4 separate regions of the Homo sapiens genome follow, and regions 2, 3 and 4 are each linked to region 1. Evidence: promoter capture Hi-C in human tissues and cell types (Jung and others, 2019). All regions are on one chromosome and are shown on one strand. Each heading gives the region's core, a stretch centred on a gene start or on the middle of the fragment in contact. The rest is flanking DNA. Distances are from core to core; before and after follow the strand shown.

Region 1 (3,233 bases), core at 198-2,697:
GGGAGGCAGGAGTCCCAGTGATAACTATTAATGCTGGGCACAAGAAGTGCACTCCCAGTCCTCCCTGTGAAGTGAGAAAAGATTCTGGAAAGGAGGAGGCGGAGGGGCACAAACCTTCTAAATCACACTGGTCATGCCAAACAAGGCCCTCATTTACAGCCAAGGACCCCAGGCACAGAGGCGAAGAGACAGCCTAACTTCCTGCTACAGAGTAACTTTCCTCCCCAATACAGCCAGTTACAAAGCGCCCTGAGTGTCAGGGATTGGCCACACTGTCCCAGGGCGCATGGAACCGCTCTCCTGGCCTTTCCCTGCAGAAACTTCTTTCCAGAGGGAGGCGCACACACGGTCCCCACGCCGCCCCGGCGCCCGCCACGGGCACACCCACGCGGCTGGCACGCCACCCTCCAAAGGCGCTGTTCCTGAGAGCCGGTGCCTGCCTGCCCACGGGGCCCGGGCGGCGCTCCTCCAGGTCCAGGGCGGCCGGGTGCCCGCCCTCCCCGCCACCTTCAGAGAGTGCGTGTCAGGGGCTGGGGGAAATCTGCTCTGCCACCTACCTACCCACCACCTAATCCTCCAAAGGACCCTAAACCCATTTGTGGCCAAATGTACATTGCTGGAGCACAGTCTGACTACTGACCCCAGGGGCTTGGAGATGAGCACGGGAGGGGTGTCCAGAGACCTGCGCTCTGTCCCCATGAGCTGTGTGACCTTGGACAAGTCACTTCACATCTCTGGAGTTGGCTTCCTCACTAGGGGGCTCCTTCTGTATTCCCCAAGCCACCTCCGGCTCTGCAATTTCCTAGCTCTCTTTTACTCCGCCCCAGCCCTTCCCGCGACAGCCCCCTCCCCAGCGAGACCCCAGCCTTTTGTTCCGGGGGCGAAGCGGAGAAGAGAGAGCGTCGCGAAGGACCAGGCCGAGGCGGCCTCGGTGCCAGGGGCTGCTCACCGGGGAGTCCAGTCCGGAGAAGTCACCAAGCAACCCCGTGGTGACCTCGCTCCCCACCCCGCGGTTTGTTTCCGCCCGGCCCGGCCCGGCCCGGCCGGGGCGGCGTGGCAGGGTGCGGGTGGGGGGCGTGAGCGCCGCGCGGCACGTCGACAACCTCCTGGGCCCGGGGCTGCAGCCCGGCGGGGGTTCCCCGGCCCTCCCACGCCCTCAGGATCTCTGTCCCGGGCCGGGCCACTCTGCTCCGGGACCGACCAGGGCGGCGGCCGCCACACCGCCCGTTCCTTCCACCCTCGGGCACCGACCCGCACCCGCGCGGGAAGCCGCTACCTGCAGGTGGCGGAGCCGGGGGCTGGACTGGACTCGAGCTCCGGCCGACGTCTCCGCCGCCGCCGCCTCCGGCTCCGGGCTCCGTCCCGCAGCGCCCGTGCTCCAAGCGGCGCCGCTACCGCCGAGCTGCGCTCGGTGCGCCCGGCTCGCTCCCCGGCCACCGGCTCTGGTGCTGCCGGGACGCGGAGGCGGGGCCGCCGCCCCCACCTGCTCGCAGGCTCCTGCCTGGGAGCCGCCGCCGCCCCGCGGCAGGGACACGGCCCCGGCGGGCGGGGTCGCTCTGGGACCCTGGAGGCGGGTCCCAAGTCGGCGGGCGCGCCTCCCGGGTACAGAGTCCCAAGTCTCAGCTGCGGAGAGACTGAGGCCTAAGGCTGGAATTCCCCAAATAGGAGCTGTTGCGCGGGCGGCACACGGCCCAGCACAGCTACTCTGGGGACACGCCACTCCTTGAATTTATTCCAAAATGTTGAGCCCTTACTAAGCTCCAGGCGGTGTCATAAGCGATGGGGACGAGAGAACAAGATTACCTCTTGCCCTCGTGGAGTTCACAGTCTAGAAAAGGAAAGCGACCAATGGGCGATTACAGCACAACCAAGAGGAGGCAGAGGCCTCCTGAGCCGGCTCCCAGAGGGAGCACCTGATCTAAACTTGGGGTGGGGAGTAGGTCAGGGAGGGCTTCTTGAGGAGCTGACGTCGACGAGAAAAACTGAAGACTGAGTGTGAATTAGCCAGGTGATGAGAGAATTATCCGGGTAGCCTGGGGAGGTAGATTGATGTCCCAGGTAGAGTCGAAGGGAGGAGAAAGCAGACTGAAAACTGAAATAGGGCCGGGCGCGGTGGCTCAAGCCTGGAATCCAAGGACTTTGGGAGGCCGAGGTGGACGGATCACTTGAGGTCAGGAGTTACTAGCCTGGCCAACATGGTGAAGCCCTGTCTCTACCAAAAAATACAAAAGTTAGCCGGGTGTGGTGGCGCTCTCTAGTCCTAGCTACTCGGGAGGCTGAGGTGGAAGGATCTCTTGAACCCAGGAGGCAAAAGTTGCAATGAACCACTGCACTCCAGCCTGGGCGATAGAGTGAGACCCTGTCTCAAAAAACCAAACCAAACCAAACAAAGAAACAAACAAAAACAAACCTGAAATAAGCTTGAAGAACGGAAAACCTTGCTTCTGTCACATTTCTTGTTCAGGCCCTTGGAGGATGCAGAAAGTTTGTGTCCGAGGCTGAATGCATTGCTGTAGGTGCTGAGATCATTGGGTGAGGATTCTGTATTGCCCATGTCCTGGGCATTCCTGCTAGTGGAGGAGCTAAGCGGGTACTCGTGGACTGTTCACTCAGCCTCGGTGTTTGAGTATCTGCCATGAGCCAGACACTCTGCAGGGCCTCAGGGCAAGGTGTCTAACTCTAAAGTTGCTGCTGGTCTGGAATAGAGGAGAAACCTGGCGCTCAGCGCTGTGCTGAGGCTTGTGTGAAATGTTGGGGACCCAGGTGAGGGAGCAGCCAATGCCAGCAGGGAAGATCTCACACGTGGATTGCAGCCTGTATTCAGGTTCAAGTTCTGTAGTGGCTGCTGTCAAAGTATGTTCCCCAAGCAGCCCTTAGCTGATCTCTTAATTACTCATGTTTGTAGCTGGGCAATGTGTCGAAAGCAAGGATTAATAATACACTTTTGATGTCTTTCACTCCAGTGTCGTCAAGAACATGGTTTTCTCTTTTGATTTAGGTGACGAAAGGTCTATGTGTAGTGAGTGGAAGCTGATGAGGCACTTGCTTTCCACCTGTTTGTCCTGAGTTCCTCTTGCCCTTTCCTCCTTTAGAATCATAATAGATGACCACAGGTATGGAACCTGAAGAACAGTTCTCCAACATAAAATTCATAAGCCCTCTTACATGGGTGATTGTTACTAAAACAAAAACAAAACCCAAAACCCCAAAACATGACCCAGCCACTCTCCTTC
Region 2 (3,233 bases), core at 444-2,943, 62 kb after region 1:
CACAACGATGCTTATCTTTGAGTGAGGAATTTATAGGTGATGACTTTTTTTTCTTCTCCTATTTTTCAAATTTTCTGTAATGAGTACTTTTTAAATAGAAAATACGAAATTTTGTTGTTAAAAAGCCATCATTTGTTCTTTCTTTTCACTGACTTAATACATGATTTTATTCTCAATCTAAAGCTTACAAGCCAGAGGTAAGGCTAAAACCCCTTATGGACACACACACAAACACGACTGCTGCCACACCAAACGCAGTCACTTCCCAGAGGTAGTCATGATATTAATTTTGTGCCGACCCTTCTAGATATTTTTCTATCCACTTATGTGTTACTGGCTCATTGATCAAGGGCAATTTGTGACATGATTAAACATGCTTTATTTTTCTTCCCTTCGTCTCTTCAGAACTTGTCTAGTGGGGGGTAATCATCTCTTGCCACTAGATGAAGAATAGGGCCATTCTAGAGGCTCTCTGGTCAGTCATAGGTGATGGACACTTCCACATTTTCTTCCGTCCATTTGGAAATTTTGAATATCCAATGTAAGGTATACAAGAAACCGTCCTATGCCAGAGGGGAAAAAACTGAGCCTAAATATGATCAAAACTGTAGATCAGTGGTTTTCAATGTTGGTTGCATACTGGGATCATCTGAGGTAGTTTAAAAAATTCCTGTGTCTCAGTTCCCCCCAGAGTCTCTGGTATAATTGCTCTTGGATTTGCCTGGGCTTCAGGGATATTTATTTAATTATTTATTTATTTATTTATTTATTTATTTAATTTTATTTTTTTGAGACCCAGTCTCACTCTGTTGCCCAGGCTGGAGTACAGAGGCGTGATCCCAGCTCACTGCAACCTCTGCCTCCCGGGTTCAAGTGATTCTCCTGCCTCAGCCTCCTGAGTAGCTGGGACTACAGGCACCCAGCAACACACCTGGCTAATTTTTGTGTTTTTAGTAGAGTTGGGGTTCCACCATGTTGGCCAGGCTGGTCTCGTACTCCTGACATCAGGTGATCCGCCCGCCTCGGCCTCCTGAAGTGCTGGGATTACAGGTGTGAGCCACCGTGCCCGGCCGGCTTCAGGGTTTTCAAGAGCTCCTCAGATAATTATAGTGGGCTACCTTTGAGAATCACTGCTCCGGATTTAACATCCAATTTATAGAAAATACATGGGAAAGCATAGAAGAACAGCATGGAGTGCAATAAGCAATAGCCACACTGGGACACGCTATAGGAGAAACACTCAGTTTCTTTATAAAAAGTTGTAAGAAAAAAAGATGAGGAGGAGAGAGGAACCTACAGGTTAAAAGTGACTTACAAGAAATTACTAATTGCAATGTGTGAAGAGATCTTTTTGGATCTTCAGGTGAACAAAGAAAACATATGAGAAGTTTTACACATCAAACAGGAATATTTGAACATTCAGTAGATATTTGATGTTAAGGGATTGTTTTTAATTTTGAGGCTACAATAATGTGGGGTTTTTTAAATTTTTGTTTTTTAAACTTTTATTTTAGGCTCATGGGTACATGTGCAGGTTTGTTATACAGGTAAACTCGTGTTATGGGGGTTTGTTGTACAGACTGTTTTATCACCCAGGTACTAAGCCTAGTACCCAGTGGTTATTTTTTTCTGCTCCTCTCCCTCCTCCCTACCTGAGACCTCGCATAGGCCTCGGTGTCTGTTGTTGTTTTATTTTTAAAACAGTTTTTCTCTTTCAGAGACATGTTGAAATAACTGAATGAAATATCTCCAGATTATATATCTGGGATTTACATGAAAAGAAGCCTATGAGAGGGAGGAGTGGGTGAGGGTGTAGATTAAAAAAAAATGATTGGCCTTGAGTTGATAATTGTTGAAGCTGGGCAATGGGTACATAGGGAACTCGGTATTCTGTTTCCTCTAGTTTTGTATGCTTAAACGTTTCCAAAATAAGAAGTTTTTCTGGAATGCTTAGTCCAAGATATTAATTAACAATGTAGTGCTTAAAGACAGAACATCTTTTTCCTGCTACAGAGTGCAGTCCTTGGCTGTCTGCTTTTGGGGAGACAGGTGTGACCATCTGTCTTGCTCCTTGCCCATCCCCACCGCCTCTCCCTTGCTGAGCGTTGCTTCCCAAGGCCAAGGCCAGAGGGCGGAGGAGACGTGGGCATTAGACCATTAGACAGCTCTCATCTACTGGATGGCCTTGGGCTCCCACCCTGGCTGGTTTTACAGCTGGCTTTTCCTGGGTTTGGTCACTTTGCTTGTGTTATGCATCAATTCTCTTCTCCCAAAAGACTTTTTTTTTTAACAGAGTCTCGCTCTGTTGCCCAGGCTGGAGTGCAGTAACATGATCTCAGCTCACTGCAGCCTCTGCCTCCCAGGTTCAAGCAATTCTTCTGCCTCAGCCTCCTCAGTAGCTGGAATTATAGGCGCCTGCCACCATGCCTAGATAATTTTTTGTATTTTTAGTAGAGATGGGGTTCACCATGTTGGCCAGGCTGGTCTCGAACTCCTGACCTCAGGTGATCCGCCCGCCTTGGCCTCTCAAAATGCTGGGATTACGGGCATGAGCCACTGTGGGCAGCCCCAAAAGACATGTTGAGCTTCTAACCCCAGTACCTGTGAATGTGCCTTTATTTAGAGAAGAGGTCTTTGCAGATGTAATCAAGATGAGGTCAGACTGGGTGTGGTGGCTCACACCTGTAATCCCATCACTTTGGGAGGCCGAGGCGGGCAGATCATTTGAGGTCAGGAGTTTGAGACCAGCCAGACCACCATGGTGAAACCCCATCTCTACTAAAAATTCAAAAATTACCCCAGTGTGATGGTGTGAGCCTGTAATCCCGGCTACTTGGGAGGCTGAGGCAGGAGAATCGCTTGAACCTGAGAGGCGGAGGTTGTGGTGAGCTGAGATGGTGCCACTGCACTCGAATGAGGTCATACTGGAATACGATGGGCCCTAAATCCTATGACTGGTGTCCTTACAAGCAGAGAAATTTGAGAACACAGAGGAGACACAGGTGAAATAAGGCCATGTGAAGACAGAGGCAGGGCTTGCATAAGCCAAGGAATGCCAAGGTTGGCAACCAAAGGAGTTAGAAGCAAGGAAAGATTATTCCCTAGAGACTTTAAATTCCCTAGAGAGCATGGCTCTGCTGACACCTTGATTTTGAACTTTGAGTCTGTAGAACTGTGAGACAAGTTTCTGTTGTTTTAAACCACCCAGTTTGTGGTACTTTCTTACAGTTGCC
Region 3 (3,233 bases), core at 409-2,908, 45 kb after region 1:
AATGTCCATTATGTTGTTCTGTGTAATTCTGCTTCTATAAAGGGAAAAAAAGACTTTTTGTTAAGTATTTCTTCTGGCATAGTGTTCCAATCAAGTGAAAACTTAGCCATTGTTAGCAAGTCCTGGAAGAACAACAGTAGTTATTGTTTTAAATAGTCATCAAACAAGTCAAGACATTCCATCTGATTTGTTGGGTGGAGACTGGTTCAAGAAACACGTATCCTTATACCAAGAAAGGGAGAAAGGAATATGACTAGTTAATTAAAATGACACAAGGTCAAACTTTGTCCCAAGACCTCAGGATCTATCTGGAAATACATAATTCAAAGAGATTCCTGAAGTTGGGGTGCAAACTGAATAAGAAGAGACCTTATCCTTTTGAACTACAATTTTCCCTTTCTTGCTATACTTTCATTAATCATTGATTTGGTTAGAGTATCTTCAAATAATTTTTTTCCAAAAAATCTACAGTAGAGGTTTCTCATGAGTAGTTGAGCATCTATTCATTCAAAATATCTATTGAAGTCACCATATGGTGACTTTATCTTTACTCCTTCGACCTGAGAATACTTAAAGGGTGCAATACTACTTTTAGGCAATATATGCTCCACCTTAACATGGAATGTGGAAGCAAGAGGCCTCAAAATAACCCAATTATTTTTTGTTTTTGAGACAGGGTCTCACTCTGTCACCCAGGCTGGAGTGCAGTGGCACAATCATGGCTCACTACAGCCTCAAACTCCCAGGCTTGGGTGTTCCTCCCACCTCAGCCTTTTGAGTAGCTGGAACTACAGGCATGTGCCAAGCCTGGCTAATTTTTTGGTATTTTTTGTAGATATGGGATTTCGCCATGGCTTCCAGACTGATCTCAGACTCCTGGGCTCAAGCAATCTGCCCACATTGGCCTCCCAAAGTGCTGGGATTATAGGCGTGAGCCACTGTGCCCAGCCCCAATTTTTTTATTTTATTTTATTAATATTATTTTTAATCCATGACAGCAAAAACAGAGACATAAAGGGATTGTATTAGTTAAGGTTTTTCAGAGAAACAGAATCTCTCTCTCTCTCTCTATATATATATATATATACACATATACACTATATACTATATATACAGTATATATACACTATAGTATACTATATATAGTATATAATATATATGCTATACATATTATATACATACATATATATATATATATATATAAAAGTAGTATTGCACCCTTTAAGTATTCTCAGGTCGAAGGAGTAAAGATAAGGTCACCATATGGTGACTTCAATAAATATTTTGAATGAATAGATGCTCAACTACTCATAAGAGAAATCTCTACTGTAGATTTTTTGGAAAAAAAATTATTTGAAGATAGTCTAACCAAATCAACAATTAATGAAAGTTAGTTTAGCAAGAAAGGTATATATATATAATATATATATCTACCTTATAATATATATATAGTATATATAATATATATAGTATATATATAGTATTAACAGATACTGATGTTATGAAGAAAGATCTAGAGAAAAGTAACATTTGTCTCTGGATGATTTACTAAATTTTCCCAATTTAAAGACTCTATGATCATTTAATGTAAGTTTTGAAGATGCAAAATATCATTATTCAGAGAGAGAGAGAGAGAGATTATTATGAAAGATTGGCTCCTGAGATAATGGAAGCTGTGAAGTCCCATAATCTGCCATCTACAAACTGGAGGCCCAAGAAAGCCAGTGGTGTCATTTGTAGTTTGAGTCAAAACCTGAAGGGATAAGGGTCAGGTGAGAAAATAGTATAAATCCTGGTTCAAGTCTGAAGGCCTGAGAACCATGAGCACCAACATCTGGGAGCAGGAGAAGATGGATATCCCAGCTCGAGCAGAGAGCGAAGTTACTTTTTGTCATACTCAGGCCCTCAATGGATGGGATGATGCCCACTTGCGTTGGTGAGGGAGATCTTATCTTCTTTACTCAGTCTAAAGATTAAAATGCCAGTCTCTTGTGGAAACACCCTCACAGATACACCCATAAATGTTCTACCAGCTATCTGGGCATCCCTAGCCCAGTCAAATGAACACATACAATTAACCATCCTGGAGATATGCTGCACCAGCCTTTGTTGCTGTCTTCTGGGGCTGAGTTCAAGCTCCAAAGCATCCCTCTGGACAGATTTTGTCTTATTCAAACTTAAGGAGGACTAGGGCTAGACCCTGTTTCCCAACTGCCTCAGAAAGCTTTTTAGGCTTACTCCATGGTAAATGAATCCCTCTGTCAGGATTCAGGACTAATATTACTTTTAGTTGAGAGCCCTGGGTCACAATTTGTATGGATGTTTGCCTATTTGATTGGACTACACTGTGGATTTCTTTGTCAGACTACATGGATTGGACTTTTTTTTTTTTTTTTTTTTTGAGACAGGGTCTCATTCTGTTGCCCAGACTGGAGTGCAGTAACACTGTCTTGGCTCACTACAGCCTCAACCTCCCGGGCTCAAGTGATGTGCCCACCTCAGCCTCCAGATTAGCTGGGACTACAGGTATACAAAATAACATCTGGCTAATTTTTGTATTTTTTTTTTTTTTTGTATAGATGGGGTCTTTTCATGTTGCCCAGGCTAGACTTGAACTCCTGAACTCAAGCCATCTGCCCACCTTAGCCTTCTAAAGTGCTGACATTACAGGTGTGTGTCGCTGAGCCTGGCTGGACATTGTAAAATATCAGCCCAATGAAGGGGCACAGATGCCAAATGAACACCCACATTTTTTTTTTGCTACTGCAAAAGCTATAAAGTTACACTCCTAGGAGTTACCTGGTTTTACTGTGCTAGAAAAGATTTTTCTGTTGAAGTAGAATTACATACCAGGAGAGGTTAAATGTAGGCAAAGATTAAATGCCCATTATCTACCGATTCAACAGTACAGTTTGGCTGGTCAAAAAAGCTGGAGGTAGGGACTGGGCTTGATGCCTGACTGTGGATAACAAGGACTAAATAAAGAGGTGGTTGTATAATAGTTATTGAACTGATTGAGGCTACTATCTACACTTGGTATGTTACTCTAGGTCTGCTATTGCCTCTTCTTCCTGATTCTTTAAGAAGTAGTTCAAGAGCACTTTGCTTTTGCTTAACATGACATGTAGTACCTCTTTATTATTCTGTTGCAGGGATATTTGAACTCACTAGAAATAGGGTCTTGATCCCTAGCACAATGGGAACAGCTCATTGAGATTCAAGTATTTTATTAA
Region 4 (3,233 bases), core at 206-2,705, 46 kb before region 1:
ATGTATTAATTCAATTAGTCTTCACATCAGCCATAATGAGATAGGTAGTATTTTAATAGAGAATGAAACTAGGGCACAGAAGATTTAAGTAATTTGCTCAACCAAGGCCGCAGAACTTCTGGGATGGCAACACAGGAAGTCTGGCTCAGGAATCTTAATCACCATGCTCTAAAAGAGCCTCTAAAAGAAGGGGCCACACCAGCCATGCAGGGCCCCTGTGTGAGAAACACTGTCAGAGAAGGCCATTGCTACTGGCCCTGTTGCTAGTCTCCTAATACTGACTGCCCTGGGGCTTTAGGGGATGCACTGTGGTGGAGGGGACAGAGGGCAGGGGATGGAGTCCTGTGGACTCTGAGCAAGCACTGGAGCTCACTGTGCCTGTTTCTTCCCCTATGAACCTGTCCCTGTGAGAAGCACAGCCATAGCAGATGCTGTGGGTCTCCCATGCACACCTGCTCAGCCTATTCCAGAGGATGACTTCACCTCCCCTCTGGGCTAGCTGCCTGTTGGACTCTGCCAGGGGAACTCCTAGAGGAGAAGGCACACCCCTGCAAGACAGATGGGGAAAGTGCCTGAGAGTCACAAGAGTTGGTGGAACGACTTGAGGCAGGCTCCACACAGTCTCTCCAGGATACAGCAGGGGTGCAGCCCCAGTTCCCCGTACACCCATTACTGGTTTTCCTCCCTCTTCTATTTCACTTCCTCACTCTCTTATCAGGGCATCCAGGAATCACCTCCCAAACAAACTACTTGCACCCAAAGCCTTGTCTCAGAATCTACTTTTAGGGGAGCCCAAAATTAGACCTTACCTGTCTCATGAAGGTGTTGAAAGATCCAGTGATATTCTATGGGGAGATGTTTTTTAATTTGTCACACTGCTGACAGCAAAATGTTAGAGGATTACTATTATGAATAATAACAGGAAGGTATGATTATAATTGCTGTGGAAAAGTCTCCCTGTCAATAAGTGACTTTGGACACACACTCCTTCCTTTTTCTAAACTTGTCCTCCCAACCTGAAACTCAGCCATCACCACTGGGTCTGTGTTAGAAATCCTGAGTTCAGGGTAGGGGGCAACTACATTTGGCAGCAAAGAGAACAAGTGGTTTCGCAATATGCACCTGTTTCTTGGGGAAGACATACAAGAAGTTCCAGCAGGTTGCATAGCCCTAGGGCTACTGCTCCAGGTGTCAAAGCAGTGAATCAGGGAACTGAGTGGTAAGATGATTCTTGTTGGTCTTGATTCTCTTGGTGTCTGGCTCTTGTTAAAGCAAGAATAATATGTCCTAATATAGCTGCCATATTTCAGTTCATTTCACTGAAGAACAAGGCTGTACATGATTTTGTATTTTAAAGAGTTTTCCTATGAAATCTCATTTTGTTCCTTCTATCCTCCTTAGGAAGCTGATGTGGTATGGTCATGGCACCTTCTACTTTTGGCCAGCCTCTCCCTGTTTTACTCTTGAGAACCCAGCCTTTGAAGAACATGTTTAAAGCTTTAGGCTAGGCATCGTGGCTCATGCCTATGCTTTGGGAGGCCAAGGCAGGAGGATTGCTTGACGCCAGGAGTTTGAAACCAGCCTGGGCAACAAAGCGAGACCTGTCTCTACAAAATAAATAAAAAATAAATTAGCTAGGCATGGTGTTGTGTGCCTGTAGTCTCAGCTATTTGGGAGGCTGAGGCAGGAGGACTGCTTGAGTCCAGTAGCTGGAGGCTGCAGTGAGCCATGATTGTACCACTGTACTGCAGCCTGGGTAACAAAGCAAGACTCCCATCTCAAAAATTAAAAATTAAAAAATTAAAAAAATAAAAATAAGTAAAATTAAAATAAAAAGCTTTAGAGGAGCCTTTCTCTTCAGGCATTGTCTAGCAACACTTTAAATGAAACAAAAGCAACATGAAACAAGAAAGAAAATCAATAGCACGCTCAAACCTCTCCCTATAGGACTGTCCCCACTGTGGGGCCTGAAGGGTGAAGGGCACAGAAATCCAAGGTTACCCAGAGGGCACTGATGAGGCAGATGTGAAAGAAGCTCAGCTCTCAGGGCACCCGTCTAGTCAGCCCAGCCTGCACCAGCATGCGGCCATGCAGCTGGTCTTGCCAATAGCCCTCACCATCTGTGCCAACAGCAGGAAAGAACGACATTGAACGTCATAAAGTCCACCGAGCCTTCCAGGTCCACTGCTTGACAATTGCTTTTATCTAAGCCAAACAGGCCAAGCCTGGCACTGTCAGTCACGGAAATTTTGTGTGCCTGGAACACAAAAGTATATTGTTACTTTGAATGTAAGTCAATGGTGAGGAGGGAGTGGTCTTGCATGACCCTGGTGAGGAGGAGCAGCCAGGGTTTTTCCCAGATGAGGGTCAGGATTTGATGATTCCATTGAAAAGATTCGGTCAAAAAAAGAAGAGGAGGTGGGCTAAAAAGTGACAACCCCAATAAGGTAAAGAGGAGCTGATGTGTGAACTTGCTTGTGGCCGAGCCAAGGAGAACATCGCAGACACCAGGAAGTGAGCTTCACATTCTGCTCTGCAGAGCCCTGGGGAAAGGGGGGTTCAATCTCCGTCCCCCACCTCCAGTCTCAGCACCCTCCTGAGGGCAGTCTCTCCTGGCACAGAAGCAGAAGGTGACATGGCCGGCAAGGTCGGGCCTGGCAAGAGCATAATACGACACAGGAGGGTTTGCTGTATTTCCAGAGAGGACAGTGCGAAACTCAGTGAGGCTGAGCACCATCCCGAGATGCCAAGGACTGGGGGAGAGGGGACTGCCACTGATATAACTGAACACTTAGTATGTTCCAGGATCTGTGCTGATGCTTTAAAGCATCATTGCAGTGAATTCCTTTACAACCCCATAAAGGTATTATTATTTCCATTTCACAGATGAGGAAAGTGAGGTCCAAAAGAATTGGCCCAGATATCAGAGATGACTAAACTCGGGAGCCAGGTCCACCTGACACACAGGCCTGTGGCCTTTTCTTTCTAGCTCAGGTATCCCTCCAACACATGGGGAAGGTGAGTGTGTGCCAGGTGGGGCATGGTGCTCTCTGGCCCCCTGGAATCATGTTTATTGGTGAGTCTCCATTGTCCCTCTTTCAATCCTCACTTTCTGTAGTGGTTCTCAATGGGGTGAGTAGGGGTGGCATGTTCCCCTGTGTGAGCCTGAATCTCTGTGGTGGACTGTGAGGTCTAAAGAAGTCCCCGGGTACCCATGTTGTGACGTCTTGAGA

The links. The method cuts DNA at HindIII sites, captures the fragments that hold promoters and counts their contacts. A contact is called where the count stands out against the background at its distance.
Region 2: a contact is called between a fragment that was not itself captured here and the fragment with the promoter of WIPF3 in region 1, in 7 of the 25 tissues and cell types used here (H1 embryonic stem cells, bladder, heart right ventricle and 4 more).
Region 3: a fragment that was not itself captured here is called in contact with the fragment with the promoter of WIPF3 in region 1 in 5 of the 25 tissues and cell types used here (aorta, bladder, heart left ventricle and 2 more).
Region 4: a fragment that was not itself captured here is called in contact with the fragment with the promoter of WIPF3 in region 1 in 9 of the 25 tissues and cell types used here (aorta, bladder, heart left ventricle and 6 more).

What each region holds. Positions count from the first base shown.
Region 1 is chr7:29,804,722-29,807,954 of GRCh38, reverse strand. WIPF3 (WAS/WASL interacting protein family member 3) reads right to left here and starts at 1,447. Exons shown (of 9, transcript NM_001080529.3): 1 at 1,277-1,447. RefSeq lists an enhancer at 802-1,711. The HindIII fragment of the contact is 12,406 bases long and covers 1-2,966 here.
Region 2 is chr7:29,742,886-29,746,118 of GRCh38, reverse strand. No RefSeq gene overlaps it. Among named protein-coding and RNA genes, the nearest start is that of MIR550A3HG, 59 kb to the right of the region's middle. The HindIII fragment of the contact is 4,556 bases long and covers 1-3,233 here.
Region 3 is chr7:29,760,375-29,763,607 of GRCh38, reverse strand. No RefSeq gene overlaps it. Among named protein-coding and RNA genes, the nearest start is that of WIPF3, 45 kb to the left of the region's middle. The HindIII fragment of the contact is 7,841 bases long and covers 1-3,233 here.
Region 4 is chr7:29,850,566-29,853,798 of GRCh38, reverse strand. All of the region lies in intron 2 of WIPF3 (WAS/WASL interacting protein family member 3), which reads right to left. Among named protein-coding and RNA genes, the nearest start is that of WIPF3, 46 kb to the right of the region's middle. The HindIII fragment of the contact is 3,067 bases long and covers 1-2,988 here.